2 separate regions of the Homo sapiens genome follow, and region 2 is linked to region 1. Evidence: promoter capture Hi-C in human tissues and cell types (Jung and others, 2019). All regions are on one chromosome and are shown on one strand. Each heading gives the region's core, a stretch centred on a gene start or on the middle of the fragment in contact. The rest is flanking DNA. Distances are from core to core; before and after follow the strand shown. Region 1 holds the start of LRRCC1 (leucine rich repeat and coiled-coil centrosomal protein 1). Region 2 has its middle 51 kb from the start of LRRCC1.

Region 1 (3,714 bases), core at 1,158-3,657:
CCATTTGCATAAGGTCATGATTGATACGTGAGGGCTTATTCCTGTCATTTTATTAATCCATTTCTGGTTATTTTTGTGTATTCCTTGTTCCTTTCCTTCTCTATCATTGTTTATGATTGTGGTTTGGTGGTTTTCTGTAATGGTAACATTTGAGTCCTTTCTCTTTCTTGTGTGTTTGATCTACCAGTGGACTTTATATTTTTGTGTGTTTTCATGCTGGTAAATATTGTCCTTTTGTTTCCATATGTAAGACTCTCATGAGCATTTTTATAGGTCCAGTCGACTGGTGATGAATTCTTTTGCTTTTGCTTATCTTGGAAAGACTTTATTTTTCCTTGGTTTATGAAGGATAACTTTGTTGAGTACTTGGCTGGCTGTTTTTTCTTTCAGCACTTTGAATTTATCATACCATTCTCTGCCGGCTTGTAAAGTTTTTGGTGAGAAATCCACTGTTAGTTTGTTGAGGGTTCCCTTATAAATGACTAGATGTTTTTCTCTTGCTGTTTTTAGAATTCTTTGTCTTTGACTTTTATCAGTTTGACTACAATGGGCCATAAAGGAGACTTTTTCTTTTCTTTTCTTTTTTGCGAAAGAAGACATGCAAGCAGCCAAGAAACATATTTTTAAATGCTCAACATCACTAATAATCAGAGAGATGTAAATCAAAACTATAATAAGATATCATCTCACAGCAGTCAGAGTGGGTTTTATTAAAAAGTCAGAAAATATGAGATGTTAGTGAGGTTGCAGAGAAAAAGTAATGCTTACACACCATCAGTGGGAATGCAAATTGCAGCCACTGTGGAAAGCAGTTTGGAGATTTCACAAAGAACTAAAAATAGAATTACCGTTCAATCCAGGAATCCCATGACCAGGTATCTAGCCAAAGAAAAATAAATTGTTTTACCAAAAAGACACCCGCATTCATATGTTTATTGCAGCACAGTAGCAAAGGCATGGAATGAGCCCTGATGCCCATCAATGATAGACTGGATAAAGAAAATGTGGCACATATACACCAACATGCAGCCATAAAAAAGAACAAAATCATGTCCTTTGCAGCAATATGGATGCAGCTGAAGGTCATTATCCTAAGTGAATTAACACAGAAACAGAAAACCAAATACCATATGTTCTCACTTCCAAGTGGCAGCTAAACACTGGATACACATGAACACAAAGATGGGAACAATAGACACTGGGGACTCCAAAAGGGGGAAGGCAAGAGTTGAATAACTACCTATCAAGCGCTATATTTACTATTTGGGTTACAGGATCATTAGAAGCCACAACCTCAGCATCGTGCAATATACTTATGTAACAAACCTGCACATGTACCCCCGAATCTAAAATAAAAAGTGAGATGAAATTTTTTTTAAAAGAAAACCTTTTTGCATTGTATCTGTTTGGGAACCTTTGGCCTCCTGTGCCTGGGTGTCTAAATCTCTTGCTAGACTTGGGAAGTTTTCATATAGTATTTTGTTGAACCATTTTTCCAACTCTATTGTTTTCTCTTTGCCTTCTGAGACTCCAAAATTTTGAATATTTGGTCACTTTATGGTGTCCTACATGTCATGTGGGTTTTGCTCATTTTTTAAAACATCTTTTTTATTTTTGTCTATATGAGTTATTTCAAAAGGAAATAGTCCACTTCAAATGGACTACTGCACCATTTGCTCCGTTTTAAAATATTACTATGCCTTAGGAAGCAATCTAGCCAGGAGGGTTATTTGACCTCACACAGGTATTGCTTTCCCACCTGTAATGCCATTCATCCAGAACTCCCCCTAACCCAGCAAGACTCTATTCAGTCATCAATCACTTCTTTTAGAAAACGTACCCACTACCCATATCACTCTAGAGTTGGTTTCGATGCCCTTGTGTTATTCTTAGCATTCGTCATACTGTATGGCAATTCTGTTTCCTCTATGGGGCTGCGAATGTTTCCAGGAACAAGAATAGGCTTCATCTTTTTCTTCCTCATACAGGGAAGTGACTGACATACAGTAAGGCATCCCACAAATTGTTCAATGAATCAACAGGAGGTGCAATGGCCAGAGGAACAATTTATACGTATGTAAGGCTATGTAAAGGCACGTAAAGCCAAACCGCTGTGAAAACCGCCTTCAGAAGTCAGTCGGCTACTAGGCAAATATACAGAAGCACACAGGACAAATCCATTCATTCTCCAGCTCCTACACGCCCGGGAAGCAGTTTTACTTTACAGCAAGTTCAAGAGTCGCACCGCAGATGCTGTAAAAACGAAAGAAGCCCACAGTTGGGACGAGGATTCCAGTTTTGCGTCACCGTCAAGGCGGGAAAGTTCCCGGCTGTCGGTTGGAGGGTGGGTCCTCGCCCCGCCCCGCCCCCTCGGGCCGCCCTTCCGCGCTTCCGGGAGGCTTGTCCCAAGCTCACGGACCCCTCGCTGGGTGCCGGTTAAGACCCCGCTCCCCGTCGCCAGTGCTATGGAGGCGGCGGCGGCGGTGGTGGCGGCAGAGGCGGAAGTGGAAAACGAAGACGGCGACAGCAGCTGCGGGGATGTATGCTTCATGGACAAAGGCTTGCAGAGGTAAAGGGCGCTCCGCAGCCAGGAGCGACCCGCGCACTCCCCAGAGCCGGGGCCACGAGTGGCTGGCGGCGACACCAGAGTGGAGGCGCGGCACTGCTTTACCAAGACCATAAGTGAACGCAGTCTGGCTTTCGGCCTCCCCGCTCCTCCAAAACTTACCTGCCGAAGTGCCAGGTTGAATGAGCCGTGGATGCCTTCCCGCCCGTGTCTCCTGCCCAGCGTTTCACACGACTCTGCTTAGCCTAGAAACTGCCCCAGGACCTTGTCCTCCACCAGCTTCTGACCACTCTTTCCTTCTGCTGGTTTTCCTTACTTACTGGTGGTTATTCCTTTGCTTGCCGTTTAATTGCTGGTTTTCTCGTGTTCTCTCGTCTTTCCTGTTCTTACCTCTGAAAAAAACCTGCAGGATAGTATCTCTGGCAGCTATGAGCGGGCAGTCGCTGCTGCCTGTTAGTTTTGCCTCAGTTCTCCTTGTCTGCATTCGAAATCATTTGTCCGTTACAGAACATTGCAATACATATATTCATATACTTTTTGAAAGTACTAAACTTACTATATTTAGTTCATCGTTTCCCTCTCTCTTGAAGCCCTGACTTGTGCAAAGCATATGAGGCACTTGGTTCTGTAATACTGTAAAGCAGGTCTCCACCTGCATTTCAGGCTCTTTAGTCTCGACCCGTAACATTTCTCCACTTACACTTTATTTACCTGTACTGAGCTACAGGCAATTCCATAGCAGACTTCTCTGTGCCTTTGCACATGCTGTTCCTTTGTAGCGTGTCCTCTACGCGAACTCTGCTACTGATAATTAAGCATCTTGTTCTGGATTCTGATTTAAACTTTGCCAGATGATCCCAAGAAGATGCTGTTCAAGGGACATTTTACATTTCTATTTAATACTAGCTGCCATTTACTGAATGCTATCTGTTGTGTGCATGTTATATACATTATCAGTAATCCTCACAGCAATTCTACAAGGTAGTAATTTTTCTCATTTACAAGTGATGAATGAGACTCAGAATCTATTGACAATTTGTTCATCTTTATACACTTCATGAAGAATTAAGTTCGGATTCAAACCCATTTTCCGTCTAATTTCACTATGCTTTTTCTATCTCACATTATCTGCACATTATTAATGTCGA
Region 2 (3,530 bases), core at 111-2,610, 51 kb before region 1:
TCTAGTGCCCATTTTGTTTAGTGAAACTAAAAATGAAAACAGGAGGAAAAGTCCACAATATCCTCAACATTGAAGAATGCATAACCTCCATCTGGCAGCAGCAATTTAATACATCAACTGGCCTGTTGAATGACTTTTTTCCTGAGCTACTTCTGGCCTTCACTGTATACACACCAGATTAGTCATTCTCGATTATGGTAACTAAAAATCTGATGAGAGTTTTATAGTTAACAAGGTATGTTGAACAAAGGTGCTGCTACTTGCTCCCTCCTGAAACCCCACTACAATGACAATAAAGGAATAAAATATGCACAATGTGTAAAGATAAAGAGAACAGAGTAGGAAACAGCAGCAAATAAGAGATGTTAACAAAATTTTAGAACTTAGAAGAATGGGTAGTAACTGACATTGCCTTTAGAGAAAGCTGATAACTAAGGAAGACTGGAGGAAGCCAGTAAGAAGATGAATCCCCAAACATCTCAAAAGCTGAAGGCAAAATAGTTACAGCCCTTCTCAAGACTCTACTGTAGGATTTGTACTCCAGCAGAGCATAAACCAAGAAATAATGAAAACATGGTATTCAGGACACAGGATGAAGGAAAGAGGTAAAGGGAAATTCCCAGATTGATCATAATGGAGAATCTCAAGATTCCATCTGTGAAACAAAGAAAGTAACCAGTAAAAATTGGAGGAGAAGGATTGAGAACTCTAAGAAATATCTAAAAATGACAAAAAACAAAACAGCTGCTTGGATATATGGACAAGAGATTGCAGTTCCATCAAAATATTTGGGAATTAATTAGTAAGAGGTATATGAAAGAAAAATAGAAAATAAAAAATACAAGAAAAAATAAATTTAATAAATTGCTTAGCTGAAAATGATACTTAAAAGGTGATAATGGTGTAAAAACCAAATATCAATTTAATCAATTGAGATACAACTACTTTGGGAAGATGGGAAGAGAGAAAATAATGGAAGTGGTACATTCATGTAAAAGAGCGAAATCTCTTTAGTTAACCATTTTAATATCTAAACTGAAAATGTTTTAAAATGATAAAATTATATTTAGAAATATGGACACAAGCGCTGAAAATAACAGAAAATGGTTTCTTCTGGGAGGAAGAATCAGGAGTATGACTGCAGATAGATATTTCTTATTCTAAGTTTCAACTTTTAAAGGTATATAATTTTTAATAGGTACCATATATTTTTCTTTCTTCCCCGTTGTGCACTTCTACACTGAGCCATGGTGCAAAGCAGCATGTTTTCAGATCCTGTCTAAATGGTACTATTATTGATAGCCTTATTTGGTCTCAACTGGAACTTTGATTACACAATATTAAACATAAGAATTTTTCAATGTTTGTTAGATCAGACATGCACAAAGCCACCTCATCCCTTCGCAAAAAGTCCCCTCCCCTCCACTAGTTGCTTGAGTACAATGGCTGATTTGTCCTCTCTGGCTTGAGGGATATTTTGTAATGTCTGGCATCACAAAGCACTCCTTATGAAAGCACCAGACATCAATTGCCCAATTTTCTACCAGATTTTTCCACAGTAACTCTTTCACACTTGGAACCAAAGTGTGATGCCACATTGCTGGCATTTTATAGTAGCCTGTGGGAACCATTCTAGTCAGCATTATATGGGCCAGTACTTTTGTGAGGGCTGCCTGTCAGGTGTAATCAATCAGCAGCTTGAGCATTTCTTTTAGCCTCAATGATCTGCCTTGTTGTATGGATTCACACTTTTATCATAGTCACCTTCTTAGAAAGCATTAAAACACCTACAAATTCTTAAATGAGCTGATTATTTTTCACTTTTTTCACTAGGATTTCTACAGAGGTTAAAGAAAACAAAAAACTCATTTTTTCAGTATTCCAAAATCATGGACTACTCCAAAGGCATACTACTCTCAGTATATGTCTTAACTCTATTATTACTCACTAGTTGGCAAAGCTCTGGTGACCATGATAAGTTCTGCCCGGCAGATTTTTCCTCTAGTAAGATGTCATATTCTAGGCAACAATCAGTTGAACGCATTGCTTATGCTCTTCATGTTTCGAGACTCCACAACCTAATTGGTGGGCTGCCTATAGTCTGAAAAATACGCATTTCCTAGTAGATAAAAGGTTTGAAGAGGAGATCTTTTCCACAGTCAGACTCTCACTAGACAAAACAAGGTAAGTGTGGGTAAAGTTTTCATAAGGTTTTTAATAAGTGACTGAAGGCAAAATGTATCCAAAGAACGCCATTCTGAGGAGAAAGCTTCTGAATTTCTTAGGTCCCAGGACTGTCTTAAAGAATGGATTTAACAGGCCCTATACTGGACCTCTTCCCTATGAATTTACTATAGCAGAATCATAACAAATAAGGAGAAGGATAGACAGAGAAAATAATGTTATTACTAGCAAGGCAGTTTTCCAATAAGCAAAAAACTTTTAAATCTGATTACATAATAAAAGGATTCTTAAAAGAGATCTAATTTCTGAGGAAACAAAATAACCTTAGCATTTGGGAGCTCAACGAAAAGGAAATCATAGGTCAGACCCAAGGTGAAACATCTCATACTGTAGTGTGAGATAGCATAGCCCAAACAGGAGGCTCAAGGAACCTTGGTGAAGCACACTGTTTTTGAGTTGAGCGTCTTGAGTTGCTGCAATGAAGATTTCTTGAATGGATCTTGGTAGAACTTTCACATTGTTGAATTTCCAAAAATATCACCAAAGTTTAATTAAGCAAAGCTGCATTTATTAGAATTTACTATGGCAAAGTAAAATTTCACTTCTACATTTTTAGAAATCAAGTATACAGAAAAGAAAGTGGTATGCTTCAAAGATCTTCAATTTGCTAACCTCTACCTTTAGTGTCTCTCTCTCTCTCTTTCTCAACATACCTGGAGGTAAAGTCCTCTGGACATGTATGACTCTCTTTTAAATATGTTCTTGATTAGGAAAATGAGGTCTTTTGTGAATTCAGACCTGTGCATATCTGGTCACATAAAATTGCACCAGACAAGGCAGCTACATCACACACTTGCAATGCTAAATGAAATACCAAGTGAGGCTCAGTTGCCCATGCTAGACACATATTCTTGTCATCTCTTGCTAGCCAGTAAATGGTGAAATAACAAATATGTGCATAACATGCCACCCAAGATACCTTACCTCTTTAGCTCTAATAATATTTGCTTTATATATCTGGGTGCTCCAGTGTTGGGTGTGTGTGTGTGTGTGTGTGTGTGTGTGTGTGTAATACTGAAGCATAGTTATGACCTCTTGCTGAACTGATTCCTTTATCATTATCATTATGTAATGCCTTTCCAGCTTCTTTTATGTTTTTTGACTTAAAGTCTTTTTTGTTTGATATAAGCATGGCTACTCTTACGCACTTTTGATTTCTTTTTGTGTGGAATATCTTTTTCCTTCCATTCACTTTCAGTTTTTGTGTGTCTTTACAGGTGAAGTGAATTTCTTGTAGGCAGTATATAGTTAGGTCTTGTTTTTTATCCACTTAGACAGTCTATATA

What was found. Contacts are between HindIII fragments. The study calls those that stand out against the background at their distance.
Region 2: a fragment that was not itself captured here is called in contact with the fragment with the promoter of LRRCC1 in region 1 in 1 of the 25 tissues and cell types used here (hippocampus).

Annotation. Positions count from the first base shown.
Region 1 is chr8:85,104,831-85,108,544 of GRCh38, forward strand. It overlaps LRRCC1 (leucine rich repeat and coiled-coil centrosomal protein 1), which reads left to right and starts at 2,408. Exons shown (of 19, transcript NM_033402.5): 1 at 2,408-2,569. The coding sequence starts at 2,466. LOC105375933 (a long non-coding RNA gene) reads right to left here and starts at 3,032. Exons shown (of 3, transcript XR_929117.3): 1 at 2,729-3,032. RefSeq lists an enhancer at 2,520-2,579. The HindIII fragment of the contact is 9,097 bases long and covers 1-3,714 here.
Region 2 is chr8:85,054,606-85,058,135 of GRCh38, forward strand. No RefSeq gene overlaps it. Among named protein-coding and RNA genes, the nearest start is that of LRRCC1, 51 kb to the right of the region's middle. The HindIII fragment of the contact is 3,395 bases long and covers 1-3,058 here.